5 separate regions of the Homo sapiens genome follow, and regions 1, 2, 3 and 4 are each linked to region 5. Evidence: promoter capture Hi-C in 16 types of primary human blood cells and fetal thymus (Javierre and others, 2016). All regions are on one chromosome and are shown on one strand. Each heading gives the region's core, a stretch centred on a gene start or on the middle of the fragment in contact. The rest is flanking DNA. Distances are from core to core; before and after follow the strand shown.

The links. Contacts are between HindIII fragments. The CHiCAGO score rates a contact against its expected background, and 5 or more counts as called.
Region 1: a fragment that was not itself captured here is called in contact with the fragment with the promoter of NXPH1 in region 5 in 9 of 17 cell types (endothelial precursors, naive CD4 T cells, total B cells and 6 more); the score reaches 15.7 in endothelial precursors.
Region 2: a fragment that was not itself captured here is called in contact with the fragment with the promoter of NXPH1 in region 5 in 14 of 17 cell types (naive CD8 T cells, total CD8 T cells, non-activated CD4 T cells and 11 more); the score reaches 22.1 in naive CD8 T cells.
Region 3: a contact is called between a fragment that was not itself captured here and the fragment with the promoter of NXPH1 in region 5, in 2 of 17 cell types (endothelial precursors and M2 macrophages). The highest score is 8.1, in endothelial precursors.
Region 4: a fragment that was not itself captured here is called in contact with the fragment with the promoter of NXPH1 in region 5 in 1 of 17 cell types (total B cells); the score reaches 6.5 in total B cells.

Annotation. Positions count from the first base shown.
Region 1 is chr7:10,903,822-10,908,662 of GRCh38, reverse strand. No RefSeq gene overlaps it. Among named protein-coding and RNA genes, the nearest start is that of COXFA4, 34 kb to the left of the region's middle. The HindIII fragment of the contact is 214 bases long and covers 1,232-1,445 here.
Region 2 is chr7:10,882,573-10,887,246 of GRCh38, reverse strand. No RefSeq gene overlaps it. Among named protein-coding and RNA genes, the nearest start is that of COXFA4, 55 kb to the left of the region's middle. The HindIII fragment of the contact is 8,498 bases long and covers 1-4,674 here.
Region 3 is chr7:10,430,373-10,435,205 of GRCh38, reverse strand. No RefSeq gene overlaps it. Among named protein-coding and RNA genes, the nearest start is that of MGC4859, 350 kb to the left of the region's middle. The HindIII fragment of the contact is 2,154 bases long and covers 265-2,418 here.
Region 4 is chr7:10,770,536-10,775,324 of GRCh38, reverse strand. The region is part of intron 1 of MGC4859 (a long non-coding RNA gene); the gene reads left to right. Among named protein-coding and RNA genes, the nearest start is that of MGC4859, 7.0 kb to the left of the region's middle. The HindIII fragment of the contact is 573 bases long and covers 2,516-3,088 here.
Region 5 is chr7:8,432,243-8,436,831 of GRCh38, reverse strand. It overlaps NXPH1 (neurexophilin 1), which reads right to left and starts at 3,223. Exons shown (of 3, transcript NM_152745.3): 1 at 2,077-3,223; 2 at 1,065-1,228. The coding sequence starts at 1,118. RefSeq lists enhancers at 1,016-1,563, 1,564-2,111, 2,112-2,659. The HindIII fragment of the contact is 6,580 bases long and covers 1-4,539 here.

The DNA.
Region 1 (4,841 bases), core at 89-2,588, 2.5 Mb before region 5:
CACACGTGGTGATAAGAAAAAGAGGGCAGGAGATGCCACATTGAATGTACCTGGCTTCCAGGTACAGCTGCCTGCATTTACATATAAAAGCTTCCAGTTTGCATATCTATGCCTGACTTCTCAGGCCGCTTTCTATTAGAGAAGAAATGGTTTGGGGTTGCTTTTTATTAAAGGAAAATTGCGCGGAGAAGTTTAACCTTCTCTAGCTGCCTAAAAATAATTTCTTAATAACTCCTGTATTAATATTAACTATTGAATTTGCATACTATCCTAAATAAAATCTTAATTTTTTTTTGAGGCAGAGTTTTGCTCTTGTTGCCCAGGCTGGAATGCAATGGAGCGATCTCGGCTAACCGCAACCTCCGCCTCCCGGGTTCAAGCGATTCTCCTGCCTCAGCCTCCCGAGTAGCTGGGATTACAGGCATGCACCACCATGCCCGGCTAATTTTTGTATTTTTAGTAGAGATGGGGTTTCTTCATGTTGGTCAGGCTGGTCTCAAACTCCTGACCTCAGGTGATCCGCCTGCCTTGGCCTCCCAAATTGCTGGGATTACAGGTGTGAGCCACCACGCCCGGCCTAAAATGTTTTAATGAAAAAAACCTGAGTTTCTTTTCATAAGCATACTTAATTGTTGCTGTTGTTGTTGTTGAGGCAGAGTCTTGCTCTCTCACCCAGGCTGGGGTACAGTGGTGCGATCTCGGCTCACTGCAACCTCCGCATCCTGAGTTCAAGCGATTCTCCTGCCTCAGCTGCCCAAGTAGCTGGGACTACAGGTACGTGCCACCATGCCTGGCTAATTTTTGTATTTTTAGTAGGATGGGGGGGTTCAGTATGTTGGCAAGCCTGTTCTCAAACTCCTGACCTCAGGTGATCCACCCACCTTGGCCTCCCAAAGTGCTGGGATTACAGGTGTGAGTCACTGCGCCTGGCTGCATACCATTTTTAATGCCAGCATTATTACTTCCCTAGGATGACCATATGCAATTCCTTATCAAGACTTCTAAATGATAATACCTTTAAATTCTCAACAGTCATTATTGATAAGAAATGTTATTCACATAAGTATGTAATAAAAAAATTAAAACAAATTTTATAGGACAATTCAATTTTAGAAGAGTTGAAATCAGTTTCAAAAACTTTTTAAAAAGCAGCTTTTCCTTTCTTTCCATGGACAAATGTAATGTTAGAATTTTTTTTTTTCCATCAGGTGATTTCACATATAATTAAGCTTTTTCAGACCAAGCATTTAAATGCATGTGCATTGTTAGAGGAATCATCCTATAGTTAGCTTGGTGGCTACCAAAAGGGTAAATTAGCCATGAATATTAATTATTTATAATGACAGATTTTCGGGATGCAGCCTCCAGCTCTGCCTGTCTGACTTCCTCACCCCCAGCTTTCTGGAGTGTGGGCTGTTATAACTTGGCTGTGTGGAACAGAAGCTTCTTCAACAGCTTCCTGGCTCATTGTGTGTAATGGGCAGTGGCTGCATGCTGACATTGATTTTGTGGACATCCAGATGATAAAACACACCCTTGTCTACTCTTATCATTTTAAGACAGAACAGGAGACAGCAGATGTTACTCATCACTTCTTGTGGGCATCAATTGGGCTGCCCTCTGAGGAGCCCTAGAGAAGGCTGCTTTCTGCCAGAGGTGACAGGTGGTGCCCTGGTAGATCCAGGTCCCAGTGTGCCACCTCCAAGATTAAAGATGGCATTGTTTCAGGGAGCTCTGCTTACGTTTTATAAAGAGGCTAGTAATATCAGAAGTGGAATAACGGTTAAAGTCAGAAGAGAGATGATAGTTTGTCTCTTGAAGAACCAAGAAAAATTTTGATAAAATGAGCAGGCTCATTAATTCGGAGCTTAAATTCTGAAAACTATCTCTTTTTTTCTTTTTATCATATAAAAACAGTGCCATATTTATTTAGGCCACTAGATCATTCAGCTCTGTCTTCTTTGAATACTGCCACCAATAAATATTTTCTAGGGAAGCAATTTTTTTCAAGCAAGGACTAAAACCAAATTTGCTAACTTTTCTGGATAATCTATTATGGATTAGTCATCTGTGCATTTGTGTTAATCTTCTTGAATCTACTGCAATACTGTTCTTGATAGTAGCCCATATATAATTTTAGATAGCTTTATTGGGAAATGATTCTTATAGCGTATACTTCACCTACTTAAAATGTGCAATTCAGCGGTGTTTCACATATTCACAGATATGTGCAATTATCACTACAGCCAACTTTAGAACATTTTAATCACCATCAGGGTTGCACAAGAAAGAACAAGCAGGGGCATGGAGGTTAGGTTTTGTAGTAATGAAAAGATGAGGTAATTCTTGGTACCCATGAGAGGATGTGATTGGCTTGTTTGAATTTCATGGAGTGGCAGGAAAGTAAAACTTACTAGGTTGAGGGCTAGCTGGGGTGTAGCAGGTACAGCTGATAGGGGAACTAGCCAGGTGGGAAGCCTTTGCTGTTAGTTGGGAGAACGTAATAAGAGCGAGGGGTCCCGTTGTTAGAACTTTGGAACTTAAACTTGTCTATGAAGCTTAAACTTGTCAAAGTAGCACATGAAATGTTATACCTCACAATACGAAGGGTCCAGCTTCATTCTTTTGCATGTGGCTGTCCAGTTATCTCAGAACCATTTGTTGAAAAGCCTCTTCTTCCCCTACTGGAGAGACTTGCCATCTTTGTCAAAAATTGGTGAATTCACTGATGTATAGGCTAATTTCTAGACTCTTAACTCTATTGCATTTACCTTTATGTCTATCATTGTTTCATTACACAGTCTTGATCTGCATTGCTTTGTAGTACGTTTGGAAATCAGAAAGTATGAGTCCTCCTGCTTTTTTTTTTTTTTTCAGGGTTGTTTTGGCTAAAGAGCCAATATTCTTTTGGAGGTCATATTAGAAGTGAATTGAGATCGATGTAGAAGAAGAACATAGCTATTGTAGACTAAGGAAGGGTTTGCTTTTGCTTAATAAATGTTCCTTTTTAAGAGAGGCAACTTTAAAAAGGAGGTAAGTAGAATGAGAGAGGAGAATCCTTCCATAAGGCGGAATTAGCCCTGGATAAGGTGATAGTAAAGTGGGAGATGTCTAAATAATATAGCATTTACATCCTTACATATTGAACTCAATAACAGTTGAGAGAGTAATTAGCTCTACTCACTAAATATTTCCAGATGCAGGTAGGATTGCACTCTCCTGTACCTTGAGGTGACTTGCACTGGATAACGATATATGGACAGAAGTAATGCTAGTCACTTCTACACAGAAAATATGAGTCAGTGCACATTTTACCGTTTGTTCTTCCTCTTACCCTGAAACATGGAAACAGGCAGATGAACTTTCCTTAGTTGGAATTCCTGAGTGAGGAGAATATAGGGCTAACTTCACCCCCTAACTCCCACCCAAGCTTACTCATAATGGACATGTAGCATGAGTAACAGACCACTGTTGTTCTAAGACACTGGGTTTGATTGTTACCAAATTTGTTACCAAAGCATAATCAAGTCTATCCAATAGAAAATTGATACCAGAAGTAGGGAACATCATAAGTCTAAAATTTGTGGCATTGGCTTAGGGATTTGAAGATAGCCTGCAAAAAATGGTTAGTGAAGACTGGAAGGATAGCAATCCATGTATTGTGATACAATTCTTGGGGGAAATATTACATGCAATGACTTAGAAGGAGAATTATGATCCAAATGAATTTGTAACTCTTAGGAAAGAGGTTTTAAGCAAAGTATTAGAAATGTAAGCTGGCTTCTATTGATTGCATTTGGCAGGGTATTACAAGACAGAGACAAGCTCAGAAAAGAATTAGTCTACTTATAAGCAAGGATTAAAGGGAATGGAGTAAGTCCGGAAATTCAGAAATGTTCAAATCTGGACAAGGCAGCTGCTTCACAATCTCAACTAGTAAATACAAAGTGACAAGGCCATTAAAATTCAACTGTATGTATGATAAGGATCAAACCAAGTGTTTGCTCATTATATCCGTTGCTAAAACTCGTGAATGACTTCAGGGAGCATTCAGTAAATCTTTTCAATTGAACAACGTAGCTTAGCAAAAAGAGATTGAAGCAGTTATCCTCTAGTCTTGATAGGCTCATGGAATACATAATTACATTAGAGATGGGTGTGGTATGGTGACAAGAAAGCGGAACAAAGAAATAACAAAACAAATCAAGGAAGTGTGTCCAGAAATGAGTGATGGCTGTGGCTATTGGCACATAGAAATAAGTGGAATCAGATAGACAGAAAGTTTGCTATGTTTGTAGTAAAGTGATACTGGTAAACCATTAGATTGGAGTAAAAATAATTGTGACTGTTTGAGCCTTAAAATAATGCCATCTATGGGCAGGAGAAAGCAGCTCGAACTCCAAAGAGGGTATATATTTTGGTGCCCCTTCACGTGTGGCCAAAGAAACTATGGGAAAGGAAGACTCTCTCAGAGGGTGGAGCCAGGCACCATGAAGAAAAATGGGAAGGGTGTTACTTTCGGGAAGTAAAATCAGGGCCTAATCAAAAGTTATTTTTCACCTCATGTAATGGGATCCTCATAATTTTGCCCTGTAGATTTCAGAATTGCTAAGGATCAATGTCTCCTAGAGTGTTTCTTTCATTTTTCCACCTTCTGAATGGTTATCTTGGTTATCCTGTCCTGCTTCACTATTGTATAATGTGTTTGTGGGACAGATAACTTGCTTTTCTAGTTCTTAGACTTAAGATCAAGAGAAGCCACTGCCAGGGCTTTATATTAACCCCAGATGTAAGAGACTTTTGCATATGACCCAGAGATCCTGAACTCTGAGCTTGATGCC
Region 2 (4,674 bases), core at 1,947-4,446, 2.5 Mb before region 5:
ATATTATAGTTTGGAAAAATTGAAAATAGGGCCTGGACTCCTGTGGACTCTGGGAAACTATTTCTTTTCCCTCAATTTGCCAATGAATAGCTTAATCACTTGTTTAATGTCACACTGATTCAAGTCCAATGTTCTATCTGCAATTCTGAGTATTCTTTCTTCTTTAGGATTAATCATTACAGCTGATGGTAATGACTGAAGTTAAGTTCATACTTCTCTCAAGAGGAGAATCTAGAAATTTGGGTTGGTTGGTTTTTTAGTTTGTTTTTTCTTAGATGACACTTAAACTGAAAATAATCTAAGTTTAGGAGACATTTCAGGTACCAGATTCACAGAACTAAATTCTGTATATTTCCTGGAAAATAGGTATGATAATCTGTCTTACTGTTGTTTTCTTTCTGGAATCCTTCAAGAATAAGAAACAAGAGGTTATTTTGTTTTAGCAGTGTGCCTGTGTGACTGTTATTTCATCACTTAAACTTTACTAGATGCTAATTTACTTGCAAAATAGAAAATCATTAATTTCCAATTCTGTAGGAGTCAAATAGCAACATTGTGTGTGTGTGTGTGTGTGTGTGTGTGTGTTTGCTGATTACAGTCACAGTTCTCCCTGCCCAAGCCCATAAACATGTTACACATGTATAACATTTTTAGAGTTGAGGGAGGAAACCCATTTTGAGTACTCCTGAAATACCCAAGTATACGTTACCTACTTCTCCTACTCACAGAGACAACTCTGATTCTTCTTCTCTTCCTGCGTATACACAGCCAAAACTATCTCTTGCCACCTCTGCTATCCTGCCGTGATTCCTGGAAGGTCTGTAGCAATATATATATATATATATATATTTTTTAATTTTAAGAGATGGGGTCTTGCTCAGTTGTTCAGGCTTGAGGGCAGTGGCAGTGGCTATTCACAAGCATGATCATTGCACACTACGGCCTCCAACTCCTGGGCTCAAGTCATCCTCCTGGTTCAGGGTCTTCAGGTGTGTGCCATAGAACCTGGCTCAAATAAGGTTCTGGTTTTTTTTTTTTTTTTTTTTTTTTTCAGATCAAAATGTATGAACATGTCATCTTGGAGGGTTAACACAATGATTTATTATCAGCATAACCAAGTTCATATGAGTTATTCTAACTGAGTTAACTAGCAGAGAGTAGGGATTAGAAGTAAGAAAGAAAATTTGGAGGAGTGGTTAGATGAAGGATGATGGAACTCAGAATACCCAAGGGACAAGGTATGCCAATGACAGTTATTATGAATGTACCAGGAGCTTGAAGTTGAAATTAAAGAAAGATGAGGCTGGTGGAGGGATGATAGAATGATAGAGAAAGAAATGTTTTCTTATTCATAATTTTGTATGCAGAATTTGTATTCTAAGAAAAGCCAAGTCTTTACCAATGTTATTTGAAAGGGCTTTGGCTGGCCACGGTGGCTCACGCCTGTAATTCCAGCATTTTGGGAGGCTAAGGTGGGTGGATCACCTGAGGTCAGGAGTTTGAGACCAGCCTGGCCAACATGGTAAAACCCCATCTCCATTAAAAAAAAAAAAGGCTGGGCATAGTGGCTCACACCTGTAATCCCAGCACTTTGGGAAGCTGAGGTGGGAGGATCACCTGAGGTCAGGAGTTCAAGACCAGCTTGGCCAACATGGTGAAACCCCATCTCTACTAAAAATACAAAAATTAGCCAGGCCATCAGAGAAATGCAAATCAAAACCACAATGAGATACCATCTCACACCAGTTAGAATGGCAATCATTAAAAAGTAAGGAAACAACAGGTGCTGGAGAGGATGTGGAGAAATAGGAACACTTTTACACTGTTGGTGGGACTGTAAACTAGTTCAACCATTGTGGAAGTCAGTGTGGCGACTCCTCAGGGATCTAGAACTAGAAATACCATTTGACCCAGCCATCCCATTACTGGGTATATACCCAAGGGACTATAAATCATGCTGCTATAAAGACACATGCACACGTATGTTTATTGCGGCACTATTCACAATAGCAAAGACTTGGAACCAAACCAAATGTCCAACAATGATAGACTGGATTAAGAAAATGTGGCACATATACACCATGGAATTCTATGCAGCCATAAAAAATGATGAGTTCATGTCCTTTGTAGGGACATGGATGAAATTGGAAATCATCATTCTCAGTAAACTATCACAAGAACAAAAAACCAAACACCGCATATTCTCACTCCTAGGTGGGAATTGAACAATGAGAACACATGGACACAGGAAGGGGAACATCACACTCTGGGGACTGTTGTGGGGTGGGGGGAGGGGGGAGGGATAGCACTGGGAGATATACTTAATGCTAGATGATGAGTTAGTGGGTGCAGCACACCAGCATGGTACATGTATACATATGTAACTAACCTGCACATTGTGCACATGTACCCTAAAACTTAAAGTATAATAATAATAATAAAAAAAAAGAAAAAAAATTTGCCAGGCATGGTGGCAGGCTCCTGTAATCCCAGCTACTTGGGAGGCTGAGGCAGGAGAATCGCTTGAACCCAGGAGTTGGAGGTTGCAGTGAGTGAGCTGAGATCGTGCCACTGCACTCCAGCCTGGGCAACAAGAGTGAAACTCCATCTAAAAAAAAAAAAAAAACAAAAAAAAAAAAAAAAGAAGGGGCCTTATTTTGGCTGGGTTCATGCCTGTAATCCCGCAACTTTATGAGGCTGAGGCAGGAGAATCACTTGAGCCTAGGAGTTTGAGTCCAGCCTGGGCAACATGGTGAAACCTCATCTCTACAAAAAATACAAAAATTAGCTGGGCGTGGTGGTGCATACCTGTAGTCCCAGCTACTTGGGAGGCTGAGGTGGGAGGAGCACTTGAGCCCAGGGTGGTGGAGGCTGCGGTGAGCTGTGATCACACCACTGCACTCCAGCCTGGGTGTCAAAGTGGGACCCTGTGTCAAAGAAAAAAAAAAAAAGAAAAAAAAGAAAGTGTCATATTTTTATACCTGCTTCCAGCACTGACTTAGCAGTGGAATCATCTCTGTTAGACTTTGCTTTTAATATTGCAATCATCACTAGAATAAAATGAAATTTCAATTTTATGTTTTTTAATGATAAACAATTAAAAATACTTCAATAGTCCATGAAATATTCATTGTATTTTAAGTTTGCATCCAGAGAATATTTAGAGATCACCTTTTAAAACAACATCAAATAATTTTGACTAGAAAACACTTAGACCTCTTTAGGAAAGAGAGCATTGTAGGGTTTTATAGAATTGTGCAGCTCATACTTGCATAGTTGGTCAGTGGCAAAGTCTGGCCCAAAAGCAAATTACCTGTTCCCCCTGAGATGCTCATTTCTTAAGTATGAGGTTCCTGAGGAACTGAAAATAAACGAAAGTTGAAAATGTTTTAATAGATGAATGCACAGCTGAATTCTACTAGACATGTAAAGAATAGCTGATACCATTCCTGCTGATACTATTCCCAAAAAATCGAGGAGGAAGGACTCCTTCCTAACTCATTACATAGGTCAGCATAATTCTAATACAAAACCTGGCAGAGACACAAAGAAAAAAATTTCAAGCCAATATCCCTGATGAGCATAGATACAAAAGTCCTCAACAGAATACTAGCAAACTGAATCCAGCAGTACATCAAAAAAGCTAGTCTGCTATGATCAAGTAGGCTTTATTCCTGAGATGCAAGTCTGGTTCAGCATACACAAATCATTAAATCTGATTTATGACATAAACAGAACAACAAACAAAAATCACATAATCATCTCAATAGATTCAGAAAAAGGCTTTTGATAAAATTCAACATCCTTTCATGTTAAAAACCCTCAACAAACTAGGCACTGAAGAAATATACCTTAAAATAAAAGCCATTTATGACAAGCCCACAGCCAATGTCCTACTGAATAGGCAAAAGTTGGAAGCATTTCCCTTGAGAACCAGAACAAGACAAGATTGCCTACTCTCACCACTTCTATTCAACATAGTACTGGAGGTCCTAGCCAGAGCAATCAGGCAAGAGAGATAAATAAAAGGAACCCAGATGGGAAGAGAGGAAATCAAACTATCTCTCTTCACAGATGAGTTAAGTCTATAGCTGGAAAAACCTCATATTCTCTACCCGAAGGATCCTAGATCTGATAAACAACTTCAGTACAGTTTCAGGATACAAAATCAATGTACAAAAACAGTAGCTTTCCTTTAAAATTTTTTTTTTCACAACTTTTAAGTTCAGGAATACATGTGCAGGATGTGCAGGTTTGTTACATAGGTAAACACGTGCCATGGTGGTTTGCTGCACTGATCGTCCCATCACATAGGTAATAAGTCTAGCATCCATTAGCTATTCTTCTTGATGCTCTCCCTCCACCAAGCCCCCATCTTCCAACAGGCCCCAGTGTGTGTCGTTCCCCTACAAGTGTTCTCATCATTGAGCCCCCACTTATGAGTGAGAACATGTGGTATTTGGTTTTCTGTTCCTGCGTTAATTTGCTGAGGATAATGGCTTGCAGCTCCATCCATGTCCCTACAAAGGACATGACCTCATTCTTTTTATGGCTGCATAGTATTCCTGGTTGTATATGTGATATGGCTCCAATGACTGGAGGAACACCAGGATCCTTGGTCTTGTGCCAATTTAAATAAAATGACACGGACACAAGTGGAGTGGTTTTAAGGTA
Region 3 (4,833 bases), core at 92-2,591, 2.0 Mb before region 5:
TATCTCATTAATGAAAGAAGTGTTATATTTTATACTGAGGGAGAAAATTCAGTAAAAAGGAAAAAAATGATTAGGCAGAGGGAATAGAGAGTTTTTTGGGTTGTATTTTTGATCAAGTGGGAGGTAATAAGATCTAATGGAGGAGTAGGTGTATTGTTCTTAGGAAGAGCAATGATATTCCATTAATGGGAGCAGGCGAAAAGGCAGGGAATATGAGACAGATGCAATTGGTTGGCTAATGGGATAGTAGGAATTTTGGAAGCTTTATTTTCTTTTTCAGAAAAATAAATACAAAGCAAGGTCATCAGTTGAAGAGCAAGAGTGAAAAAGAAAATATTGGAAGTTTGAGAAAAGTTTAGATAACATAAAATAGTTGTTTATCAAAGTAGAGGAATGGCTAGACAGGAGAAATGTAGTAGAGATGAGAACTGGGTAGTATTAAAGTCTCACTTGAGGTTAGTGCTTATGAATTTAATGTTAGACCAGCCTGAGAGAGTGAGTGAGTGTGTGTATGTGTATTTCCTGAAATTTTTATCTGCCGGGACATGTATGAAATGGGCAAAGAGAGGGATTCCATCATGATTGAAGCAAGAAGAAGAAAGTAAACAAAACGAGTCTGGGTGTGGTGGCTCACGCCTGTAATCCCAGCACTTTGGGAGGCCGAGGCAGGCGGATCACGAGGTCAGGAGATCGAGACCATCCCGGCTAACACAGTGAAATCCCGTCTCTACTAAAAATATAAAAAAATTAGCCGGGCGCGGTGGCGGGCGCCTGTAGTCCCAGCTACTCGTGAGGCTGAGGCAGAAGAATGGCGTGAACCCGGCAGGCGGAGCTTGCAGTGAGCCGAGATTGCGCCACTGCACTCCAGGCTGGGCGACAGAGCCAGACTCTGTCTCAAAAAAGAAAGAAAATAAACAAAACGAGTAGGGGAATTGAGAGTGTGTGCAAGCAAATGGTAATTCCTGAGAGAATTCAAGGAAGGCAAGTAAGACATGAGGGTGAGAAGAACAATATAATGGTTATGGGATGAATTGATTGCGTCTTAATTTGGATTCAAAAATTGTAGAAGTTACAGTACAAGAAGAGGACAGTTGGAATAGCGAAAGATTATTGATGGAGAGTGGAGAACTTACAAAATGGAGAGTAGGACAAGGCTCCAGCATTCGCTAATAACAAGATCAAGGGCTTTGCTGAAGTAAGTAAGGAGAGGTCAAGGAACTAAGGGTGCTTGGTAGGAAAAGCATCACATATGTGATTACTACTCCAGGAGCTATGATAGCTGTTATGTTGAAGGGAGTGACAATAAACTAGGAAACTAAAATCTTCAAGGAATGAGATGGAGTGACCTGGGGGTTGGTAGAGGACTTCAAGAGGCAGTTAGAAGGTGTTGTAGACTGATGATATGAGATTCAAACATGGGGAAAGAGGAAGAAAGAAAAATATTGGCTGTTTCTAGAATTGCTTATTATATATTTTCTAATTACCCTGAATAATTATGAAACACTTTCATATCTTTTAGCATATTTTATTTTACAAGGCAGAGGAATGTAGAATATGTTTTAGAAGGATTTTGTTCAATAGCTATATATGTATATGTTTCTTTACTATTTCGTGCTTAAAAGTGTACTAGATGTGAGCTAAAATATAATTATACTGATATAGTGAAAAAATCATTAATCTACATTACCTTTAAAATTACTTTGCAATAGAAAAACCAGTTGATCACTAAATAGAGAAATATAATTTAATAAAGTAAAACACCTTTTAATGATAAACTTTTATCAAAATAGAATTGGAGGAAGTTTATTTAAATTTGTAAAAGGTCTCTTCCAAAAACTTATAGGAAGTAGTATACTTAATAATAAAATTTTAGAATAATTATTTCAAAGTCAAGATGCAATTTTAAATGCCTGCTACTACTACTTTTATTTCATATTGTATTTGAAATTTCATCCAGCACAGTAAGAAAGCAAAATAAATACAAGAATTGGAAAGGAAGAAACAAAAACTCTCTTTACCTGCAGATCATATAATTACCCACCTAGAAAATTCAAGAAAATTTAGAATATTGACTTTATTTGGATTTCATGTCTCTGAATTCCCATTTGAATTTCCATCAAAACCAGTACTGTAACATCTTCAAATGTCACAGTAAATATTATTGTAAATAGAATTAGTAGAAAAAAGTATTTGCATTCTATATAACATCTTAAAACAATAAAGATAACTTCAAGGTAGGGAAGAATTCCTTGAACCACCAAAACTACAAACTAGAAAGTGATAAATTTGACTATATTAAAACAAAAACAGCTTTACAAACAACATCACTTCTGAATTAAAGGCACTAAAAGAAAAAGACAAGTCACAGCCTTGGAGATGTTATTTTAAATACATATAATTTACCAAGGGTTGAAAGCTTAAAAATACAAAGAATTTTGGCAAATTTTATAAAAAAGCAAAAATTCAATGAAAAAAATGGGAATTAACAGACATGAAATCCAGATCAAGTCAATAAATATTATAAAAATATCTTCAATTGTAGGCAGGATAGTACAATGTTAAACATTATGGCCATCAAAATTATCACCCCCAAAGATGTCCCCAGAAACTGTGAATTAAAGTTGCAAATAGAATTAGATTGCTAATTAATTGGCTTTGAGATGGGGAGATTATATAGCGTATGGTACGGTCATCGACCTACTGGGCCGGGTGCAGTGGCTCATGGAAGGAGGCCGAGGTGGGTGGATCACCTGAGGTCAGGAGTTCGAGACCAACCTAACTAACTTAGAGAAACGCTGTCTCTACTAAAAATGCAAAATTAACCGGGCTTGGTGGCGCATGCCTGTAATCCCAGCTATTCGGGAGGCTGAGGCAGGAGAATCACTTGAACCCAGGAGGTGGAGGTTGCAGTGAGTCGAGATCGCACCACTGCACTCCAGCCTGGGTAACAAGAGTGAAAATCTGTCTCAAGGAAAAAAAAAAAAAAAAAAATCCGAGTCATTAAATTTTAAGATGTCACAGCACTGGTTTTAAAGATAGAAAAAGGGACCATGAGCCAGGGAATGAGGCAGCTGCTCTTCTGGAAGCCCTGGAAGGAATGCAGCCCTGTAGCCTCTTGACTTTAGACCCATTTTGGACTTCTGGCTTCCATAAGTGGGAAATAATAAAGTTATGCTGTTATTGATTTGTGCTGTGCTGTGGTCATTTGTTATGGCAAAATAAAAAAACTAATATAAGCACAAATGAAATACCATGACAAATATTTAAAAGTCACCAGGATGGCAATCATTTAAAAGTCTGACAATGCCATATGTTAAGAATATGATAAAATGGAAAGTCTCATACAATGCTGGTGACAGGTGATAAATCAATACATCTTCTTCAGAGGGCAATTCCACAGTGTCGAAAATGTTTATACCCTCAGCATCAGCAATTTTATTTCTAGGTTTATTTTAGAAAAATTATTACACTTGTGGACAAAGAGACACAAACAAGGATTGCTTGAGAGAGCTGTTGTAGTATGAAAATTTGGAATCAATATAAATTTTCATCAGTTAGAGAATGGATAAATCTGATGGAATAGTGTATAGCAGATGAATGGACTACAACTACTTATATCAGCCCTGGTAAATTGCAAATATGTAATTTTGAGTCAAAAAAGCAAGTTTCAGAAGGTATGTGTGTGTGCACGTGTGTGTATACACATATATACACACATATATTCAGTATACACACATATATAATATTACTTATGTACATTTTCAAATGTAGAAAATTTTTATATAGTTTTCAAATACATAATTATTGGTACAACTATAAGAAACGTCTATGGGAATCTAAATGCCAAGATCAGAATTTCGATGACATCTAACAGAGTTTGGAAATTGAACAGAAAGCTTTCAATTCTACCTATAATGAGTATATGGATGTTTCTTACTCTACATACTTTCTAATATGGCTAAAATATTTATTTTTTTAAAATAAAGACAAAACACATGTATACTTGCTTACTTCTGGTGAATACCTTCTTCCCAAACGATATTAGAAAATTAATACCATAATGTACATGATAAACAATTATATATTTATACAATTTTAGTTTAGAAAAACCAACAGGTTGCATAGTAGATGCCAACCTTTGTTATGATTAACAAAAATAATGTTGTTATACTGGAATTATATTCTCATTTTCACAAATACTTTTTTTCGCAAATACTTTTTATTATAACTTGAGGGTTAGAAAAAGAGATGATCCTTACCAGAATGACAACCATTTTCTTACATCAAATTTCAAATGAGGCAGACTATAAATCAATCAATTCCAATGGATGTGAGATATTAGTAGTACAGTATAATTTTTACCCATCTTTGTGAGTATATGAATTGCTGTACTTGAATTTTTAAAAGATTGAGTGATATCTACTCCAGACCCACCCACTAATTTGGGAAAAAAAATCAGTTTCTGTCATTCTGTCATATTAGCAGCAGCTCTCCTTTCTAAGGTCATCTGATACTTGGGGTAGTCCCCTTTTTTCTCCCATATTAATCACTTCTGTTTGCTCATTGTCCAAGCCCAGTGGTTAGCTTTACTGCTTTCAAATCAACTTGGTTATGAGAGATTTAGTCTAAGCTGTGAGCTGAGGACATGGTGTCTGGCTTCTCAGACTTACCATACACTATTTCTTTCTTTGTATCCTACAAATTCCCAGGGGCATCTTGAGGGAACAAGGTGGAGCTCTCTACCATTTGAAGGACCCATCAAAATAAACCCCCTTGGTCTTGGGGAACCATAGCTTTGGGGCTTTTATTTTCACCTCAACTACTTTCCTAAAT
Region 4 (4,789 bases), core at 1,553-4,052, 2.3 Mb before region 5:
CCTGGCTTGAATGTTCTTTTCTTATAGTAACATAGTCCTTACTTTTGGGGTGCAGAATAAATTTAATATTATTGATAACATAAAGTTTATCATTAACATCAGCTCAAACAATTACAGAATTTCATAGTATGAGCTTTATCTGAAAAAAATTGGCAAATATAGTCAAAGAACCTAGCTAATCTTTGTCCTGAAATATTTGTAATAGCACTTGAATTGTATAATACTATTCTCAATGTTTAGATGTGAATAGGAACACACAGGGCTTTTTAGTCAAATTTTGCCTCAATTTCCAATTGAACTGATAAGTACCTAACCTTAATTTGCTGAACATAGATTTCTAAACATTTATTAGCAATTTCTAATCAAGTTAGTGAATTAGCATCCTCCTCTGCTGCTTTGTCTACATTTTCTTGTGTAGCAATACTTCTTTTGCTGATTTTTGTGAATTCTTCAAAGTTTCATTCCATGGGATACAAGTGTGGTATATTTCCCGCCCTTGTCCAGACTTCAGGAAATAACTAAAACACAAGGCAGACCTCCTCATCACAAAGTTAAATTAGTACATTTATTGAACAGAACTGAACCTACGACATAACACATGTGCATTATGACATGTGAGGCATAGCATGTAGATGATGCATAGACAGCCGACCTGCAGAACCACTGACTCTTATCTATAGCTAGAATTCATTTAGGATGCCTGGTATCAGAATATGCACTGAAGTGCTGAATATATCAACCCATTTTCTGTGTTGCTTCTGTGAAAGCTTATACAACTTCTTTGACAAGGAGTTCTGTTTTGGGCAGTGTCAGAAAAGTTTGCTAGGCATCACTGGTACAAACAATAGGACCTCTCAGATGCAAAAGTTTCTGGTCGAAAGAGCTCAAATGGGGCTTCCATTGGAGTAGATTATTCACTGCCCCTACCCAGTCTTCTTGTCCTCTTCTCCCACATGGAGCTCTTTCTCTAACTCATTATATTTCTCACCCTATTTCTTTGCCCCTCTCCTTTTTTTTCCTGTCTTCCATGAAATATTATAAACTCCAAGTTCTTCACTTTATATTTGTCCTTATCTCTGAAATTTATAAATAATGCAATCTATTATTTACCTAATAATGAACTAGGTGCTTTGCAGTGTGTTATCTAATTTAATCCTTGCAACAACTTTGCAAGTTAAGTTATCCTCTTTTTAAGCCACCATCTATTTGTGTTTGAATGACTGTGTGTATGTTTAAGACAGAGTGATTTTCATAGACTAGCATTTATTAATAATTTGCAGTACCACCTTCTAATTGGATTGAAAAAGTGTAACATCTACTAGAATATCTTATGCATTTAGTGCCTAATCATTTAGATTCTATTTTAATTTGTATTTCTCAGTATAATGGGGGTTTCATTCTTATGCAGTTTTGAGAAGTTTATGTTAAATTGAATGTCCCAGAATGAAATAAAATCACAAAGATGACAGAGTACAGTGATTTATCATTCTTTTTCTGTATATACCTCTATGAAGTAAGAAGACATTGCATCTTCTGTTTTTAGGTAGCACTACTTATATTTTTTTTAGTAAAGAGTTGTCACCGTGAAAATCAAAAGCAGACACATCATTTAAAATCCCACAATTAAGTATATGCTTCTCAGCAGCACAGTGACATCTTTGATAGTGTGGGTAATGTATGTTTTCTTCTCAGCTATCGGAAGCTGTGGTAATGGAAGCCAAGCTCAAACATCAAAGAAAAGAGGTTTTCCTTTGTAGGAAAACATCATTACATTTTCACACCATTAGGGTGATAGAAGTGTAGCACCTCCTCTGCATGAAGTAGATGCTTTTGATTTTTTTTTTAAGTAAACATCGACTAAGAAGCATGTAATGTTGATCATTACTTGTGTATATATTAGTACCACAATGCCCCAATAATGCCTATTGACTACCACCTTATTAACATTTTTAGGAAGGGGGTGGGATATTAAATAACTCACTAATTGAAACTCACTTTAATTAATTATTAGCAGTTACTTAGGCATATCAGCATCTAATTTCCTGTCTTTTAAATGACATTCCTTTGAAAACTTGAAGGTTTCTTCATGATAGCCTCGTAAAAATCAGCCATAGCAATTATTAAAGTGAGGACATCAGGCAATTTAATCTCCAACTGAAATCAGGACTAGATGCCAAGAAATGACCGGAATGCCCATTATTCTACTTTTCTCCATATTGTTAATGAACCGTTTTACTTAACAAAGGGTATATATACTTTAGAAACTGAGCTTACTGAAGGAAAAGTTTTACTTGAATAAAGCCAACATTGCCAAGATGCTTATTATTTTCTTGTTTAAGGAGGGTGAATACAGGTGAACCAAATATACCTGAATTCTATAGGTATTATTTTCATTGTTGTTCATATAACTTTACCTTAAACAATGTACAGTACCCAAGATAACACTGCTAAAATAATAGCAACGTAATGGTAATGACAAAAGCATCTCAAATCCATAAGGAGAAAGCAAAAAGCTTCATTTACTGCACTATTTCACACATCCAAAAAGATGGCCAGTTGTAGAATGTAAGCTCTTCTACAGGGAACAAAAACAGCAAGAGAAACAACGTGTTTCAATGGTTAAACCATTTTCTGATTGGTTGAAATTTACCCATCTCTTTGTTAAAGCTGCTGAGAAGTTAGCAAGGCCAAAATGGTACCCTGAGCAGCTGTCATTTATTTAATTTTCACCTACCAATATTCCTCAGATTAAATAATGTCATCCCAAAATCTTAGCAGCTACCACTTAGTTCATAGTTGCCTATTAATATTCTTAATGCTAACTATAAAAACTTTGGGGCATATTATAGAAATAATGACATTGATTTAGTATCTTCCATTTAAGCAAAACAAGTTTTTGCTTTACTGTGGCACTGGTTTTTAAAAAATACAAAAAATTAGCCTTGATATTTATGTAAAGCAGGAAGCCATGTTCTTTTGAAAACATTCCCTTCTAGTGATGATATAAGATAATTTATTATTTTAGTGTCGTTCTCCAGGTGATTTGATAGCTTGTGGTAGCAATGTTGGGGACAACGGCAGCAAAGCTTGAAAGACAGAAAATGGTAGCATTTAGTCCTGCAATAGCTATACCTCTGTCTGATTTTCAGGTGTACTTCTATCTGCTTTTATTATTTATGCTACTGTTTTCTCTTTTTTTCCTGTTTATTATTAGTTTTACTGGTTGGTCCAGATTGCTGCTTATTTCCTTTCCCTTCTCGTGTAGTCTTCAAATAATTAGTAATTCCAGTGGTATTTGGCATAGAAAAATAAAAATGGATTAATGAAGCATACTAGTGTCCAGAAATATATCCCAGTAAATATGAGAACTTAATATATGATAGAGATTCAATTCAATAGGAAAATAATGGTTTATTTAACAAAGAATCTTGGCACAATTGTCTATTCATTTGGAAGGAAATAAGTTTAGAAGCATGCCTTACATCATATATGCAGACTTCAGATAGAATAAAATGTAAATTTAAACACTGAAAATCTTAGAAGGAAATATAGGTTACTTCATGTAAAGGTTAGGGATGGAGAGCTCCTATCAAATATAGGACTCAGAATCTATAAAAGAAAAGAGACATACATTCAGGTATTTATGAATTAATATCTATTGTATAAATAAATTTTCATCGCAAAATTAAATAGAAAATATAGATTTTTGGAAAAAATTAAATGCAAATGACAGAAAAAGGGACTAATCTTTAAAATAAACAGAACCCTTAAATAATAAGCAGAGCCCTGAATAATAAACAAAAACAACTCTATTTAAAATGTACAAAAAGATTTAACTCTGTAATTGATAGAACAAATCCAAACGGCTAATCACATTTTTCAAGAATCTGAAGTTCACTACTTAGAAAATGCAACTTAAAGTAGCAGTGAGATATCACTTTATACCCATCAGATTGTGCCATTTAAAAAGAGCAATTACATCTACTCTGATGGGGTTGAGGAGACAGGGGGTTCTTACATATTGCTGTTGAAATGTGACTCAGAATGCAGTCTGGAACGGTCTACTAAATATAGAGATAAACATACCCTTTAATCAGCAAACTTATTCCTGGGAATTGAGCCCATAGAAATAAAAGCATTGAGTGCATAAGATTTATGTAAAAGAAGTTTATTGCTGGAATATTTGTGGTGGGAACAAACTGGAGACAAAGTGAATGCCCGTGAATAGAATAATGCACAAATAGATTGTTACATCCTTACAATAGAATATTGTTTTTCATTAAAAAGTATAGATTGGATCTTTGGCAGTTAACTTGGAAATGTTTTCAAATGAGAAGAGCAAGAATACATTAAAAAATGGGCATAATAGTTTCAATTTTAGGGAATAAACACTGACCAAAAATGTACCAAATCTCTATGTAGGTGGCTATGTCTTTGTATATTATTCTTCTGGTGTGGATAAGGTTATGGAAGTCACATGACTTGGTGCTAACATTAGAGGTGTTGTTGTATAGTGATGAGAAACATGGACCTTGGAGTTAAAATTCTTACGTTCAAATCCTGGCTATGTAATTTACTCGCTGTATGACTTTGGGGAAGATTTTAATTTTTTTTTCTATGCTTTAGTTTTCTCTTTTATAAAACAGGGATGGTGCTAGAACCTATCTCATTGGATTGTTGTATTAAATGAGTTAATATACACAAAGCACTTTAAAACTGTGCTGGTTGTACAATGCTATCAACTTATCAGTTACACGAGCTTGGGTAATGTGAATGGGGAATAACAGAG
Region 5 (4,589 bases), core at 1,974-4,473:
GATTGAGGAGCGCCAGTATCACCTCCAATCAGAGGTGTAGCCCATCAGAGAGTTCGGGCTGCTTTAGCGCACCTCACCCCTAGACAGAACATAGCGAGCCCTCGGTGCACTCCCGCAGCCCAGGATGGGCTATGGGGGTCGGGACACTGAACACAACTTCACCAGCAGGGCACAAGTGTCCCTTACCCCCATTCCCCCATTCCCACCCCAGAAGCCAGACCTGAAATATCTCATTCTCCTTGTCTCAACATGGCACAAACAGCTACCAATTCACCACAACAAAGCTCTTCAACCAGGAGCCGAGTTCCAGCAGTGTACAAAGTCCAGCCCCCCGGAAAACTCTGCTACTGAAGGACAAGGACCGCGGCTTTGTTTAGAATTCTCTCCCTGGCGACAAGGCCTACCATTCCCTAATAATGGACTAGTCACTGGAGATGGGATTTAGTTATTTGATGAAAAGGGGAGGTCGAGACGAGAGGAAGGTGGACATGTTTGCTGGAGTATCTCTGTCCTAACTCCGATTGCTTGCAGTACCCCTGATAGTTAAACTTATCCTGTCGGAACCCTTACAAGTCAAAGAAAGTTAACTGCGCTTCTTTATGTGTCTCATCTCCAAATCGGGGAAGTGGGTGGGTAGATTCACTTTTAAACTCACAGACCTGGGCAGATTTGTTCTTTCCACCACCCAACTACACCCCCACTTCCCTTCGTTTAAACTCTGTGCATGAGCTACTGAGAGTTCCTGCCTTCCACTTCTTCTCGTTGGCCCTCTATCACATAAAGCACCCCATCTCACTACCTCCTTGGGTTTAGGGTGTCTGGGGCGCCCTAGCCCCTTTCAAGAATCACGCGCAGGAGACTGGGGGATTGGAGCAGAAAATGGGGTGGGAACCCCGGAAAATCCGCAGGAATCCAGAGACCAGCTTGCCAAAGTTGCTCCAACACAGCTGCTAGGAAGCTGCTCTCACTGAACTGGCGGCGTAACCCTTCTCCCGCGTGTCCCCAGTTTCCTTGCCTCCCGGCCGGGGTAAAAATGCGAAAGCCCCGAACCTTCCAAGACTTACCAAGTAGACGGTGGGCTGCAGGAGGAAAAGCACGTACCAGCACGCAGCCTGCATTCTCCCGCGTCTCAAACTTCCTTGGCGGTGCCTTCTTTGAGTCTTTGTTCCTTCAGAAACATAGATCCACCTGACATCCACTTTACAGAGCAAGGAGCGCTCTCAGCAGCCTAGATGCAAATAAAATTAGACATCCCATGACTACGCGGGCAAGGTTAGGCTTGACAATCAAGCGGGGAAAGGGGGTCGTAGCGGGGAGTGGGGGACCAAAAAAAAAAGGGAGGGAGGGTACGAAAAATTGAAAAGCGAGTAAATCCAGCGCCTGAGACCAGCAAGCGCGCGGTCCGCAGCTGGGGAGGCGGGCGGGCGGACGAGAGGGAGGGTGAGGGGCTCCTTGCCCCCTGCGCTCCTCGGGTGCGAGTTCCCAGGCGGCGGAGCACACTGAGCCGCGTGCAGGCTGGTTCGGAGCCCAGGCTTCTCCGGCAGCGAGACCTGCCCTTGTGTTGGGTGGCCCGGCGGCTCGGACTAAAGGCGGCGGCTGGTTCTTCGCCAGCCCTGGCAGTGCTCACACACGTACACACCAGCAGAGAGAGATAGAGGGGAAAGATAAAGGGAGAGAGAGAGATTGAGCGAGGGGGGCGCGGTGAGAGGAAGAGGTAGGTAGAACTGACCGCGATTAGGTGCTAGGTACCTCAACACGTTCGGTGAAGTGGGGGTGGGGAAAGAGAATGCAATTTGCATACAGGAAAGCAGGGATCAGTTTACCCATTCGAACCCCTGGCGCACACAGAGATACCCACGAATGCTCACAGTCACATCTCTAGCACTACTTTTTTCGAGCCAAAGGGTACAGCCGGTCGCTAACTTCTAGAGAAGAAGCCTCCTCCGAGCTGTGAGGGTCACCTGCCAGGCTTGTTCTCTTTCCTAACCAGCGCCCCTCCCTGCCGTCCCTTCCTCGTGCCCACCACCCCGCTCCCAGGTGTACCCTCCGGGAACAGCGGAGGCAAAGGGTACGTACCGCACAGGACTTGGGGCGAATCCTGCGAGAAGGGACCGCTCTGGGCAGGCTCCATGGAGAAGCTACTCGGGCCTGGCGTCTCCAGCGCCCCGGACGTGCCCTCCCAGGCGCTCCGTCTCCATGCTCGAGCGCAGACGGGTCCGGCTGCCTCGTCCAGCTTTGGCGGAGTCGCCGTCCCAGTGCCCGGGTCGCGCTCAGGATTGGTTCGCGGGAGCCAAGGCTTGGCACAGTTGGATTCACGGTGCAGGAAACTTAAGAGGCAAGAGAGGGAGGGAGCAGTAGAGGAGGAAAGAGAGGAAGACAGAAAGGGAGGGAGAGCAAGAGGGAGGGAGAGAGGGGAATGCGCCGGGCTGCTGCACCGGACGGACTGGGACTGCCAGCGCTGGCACCCGGACGAACAGTCCAGGACTCTCGGCTTCCCACAGCTGCCTGAGGATGGTGGAAATGACTTAAGGGGAGGAGACTGAGCAAGTCCTCTGGACTTGAAGTGGAGAGATAAGACACTGGCCTTTCGGAAGAAAAGAGAACCACACGGCAGACGAGAGCAGTCCGAGTTTCTGAGGGAGGGGTGGGGTGGCGAGAATCTGGAGCCTGCGGCACACGGAGCAGCTGTACCTCTACCCGCGACGCTGGGAAGCCCAGGAGCCGGTCCCCAGTGGAGTCCCGGGCGCTGTCCCTGGTGCTGCCCGGCCACCCGGGGACGCTCTGGAGCGCTTTGGGTTTCCGGCGGCCGCGGTGGTCGTGGTTTCTCCGCAGAGCCGCGGCTTGGCACGCCTACCTTCCTGACACGGACAATTACTTTGGCACGTGGGTGAATGATTCCTCAAAGACTAATTAGTACCCTGTGTAAACAGATCCGGCTCTCAGGCTCTCGCGGGCTGGGCCCACAGGGACAAGTGGCTCCCGCGGTGTCTTCGGTGGCCGCAGCGCCCCCTTCCCGGGGGGCGTAGGGAAGATCGCAAAGCCCAGGGGAGTGGCGGGAAGAGCAGCCGGGAGTCGCGTAGGGCGGGGAAGGGCGCGGGAGGGTGCAGGGCGCCCCTGCCGGCCTCGAGCGCCGACGCCGGGCGCCTCCGACCTGTGGCTGCCGGGCCGGAGGCGGGGGAGCCGCAGACTGCCAGCCATTCAGCTCGAGACAGCCGAGAGGACTGGGCGACCTTGGCCTCTGGACTCCTCGCCGCCGGCTGGGCTGAGCGTGAAGGGGGAGGAGGAGGACGGGGGATGCTTCGAGCCGTCACCACCTCCCTCGCTACTGACACCTCCCACTCAACCAGCGTCTCCCAGACTCGGCCTCTGTGCTCCGACTCTGGCTGTCTCTGTCTTTCTCAGTCTCTCCCTTACTGTCCCTATTTCTCAGTATCTTTCTCACTCCCTCTCTCTCTCTGTCTCCTTCTTCTGTCATTCTTGTGGTCTGCGTCTCTGTCCCTCAGCATCTTTCTGCCTTTTTCTGCCTTTCTGTGTGTCTCACTCAGGATTTCTGACTCTAGGTCTCTGTATCTCTGTGCCTCTACCGTGTCCCTGCCATTCCCCCTCAAACCCTGTTTTGTTTTTTGTTTTTTTTCCTCCACCCTTCCAGTGCACCACCACCAGAGCAGTTTCACCAGTCTCGGGAGACAGCCAGGACCAGCTTCTTCTGGTGCTGGTGGGGTTGCCAGTGCTCCTTGAGCTTGCCCAAATTCAGGGCACAAATCGGAACCCGGAAGAGGGTATCTCTTCCCCAACCTTGCCCATTGCATCTCCAAGCCTGCCCTTCACCAGAGCCTCTCCTGGGGTGATGCACATATCCATATCAATCTGTAGGAATTGTATGGAAATTTATCTCAGGAACCTGAGTTAGTGACATCAAAATCGAATTGTGATATTTAATGAGTCTGGAATGTCCTTTCCTCAAGTGTGGCTGTGGACACTCTGGCAGGTCTGGGCCTAGATACAATGTACACTCTAGACAATAGGTCCCAGGCTGAATTCCCCTGGATGATGGAGACCACCCCTCAAACAAGGCAGTGACAATCAGCAGAGCCACCCAGTCCTGCAGCAGAGGCAAGAGGAGCCCCACTGAGACCTTCCCCTGGAATCAGATCTCCAAAGACCTCCAAATTAGATCCCCACTGTAGAACATACCTACCAGCACTTTGAGGTCTACACTCTCCCTTCCAGCTAAAAATAACTCTTTAAAGAGCAAGCTCTTCTAATCTTAAAAGTTGTACTCTGCTGCTGTGACCTCCTGGAATTCATTGGGGCATATGCAGAATAAAGCAGTGAAGCACACCTTCTAACTGTGTCTCTGAAAATCCACTTCAGAAAAAACGCACATGTACATATAGCATAATTACAATGTTTTCTTGACTATTTTCACTTACCAGCTATTTCATTTTCTTAAAAACTTTAAACTTTAAAGAAGAAAAATTAAAGTATTGGGGCACCCGTATCTGAGGCCAAATGGTCAAAGCAGGGGCAAAAAAAGCTTTGTCTAATTCCATCCTCTAGGATTCATAAGGCTATCCTAAAATTGATTC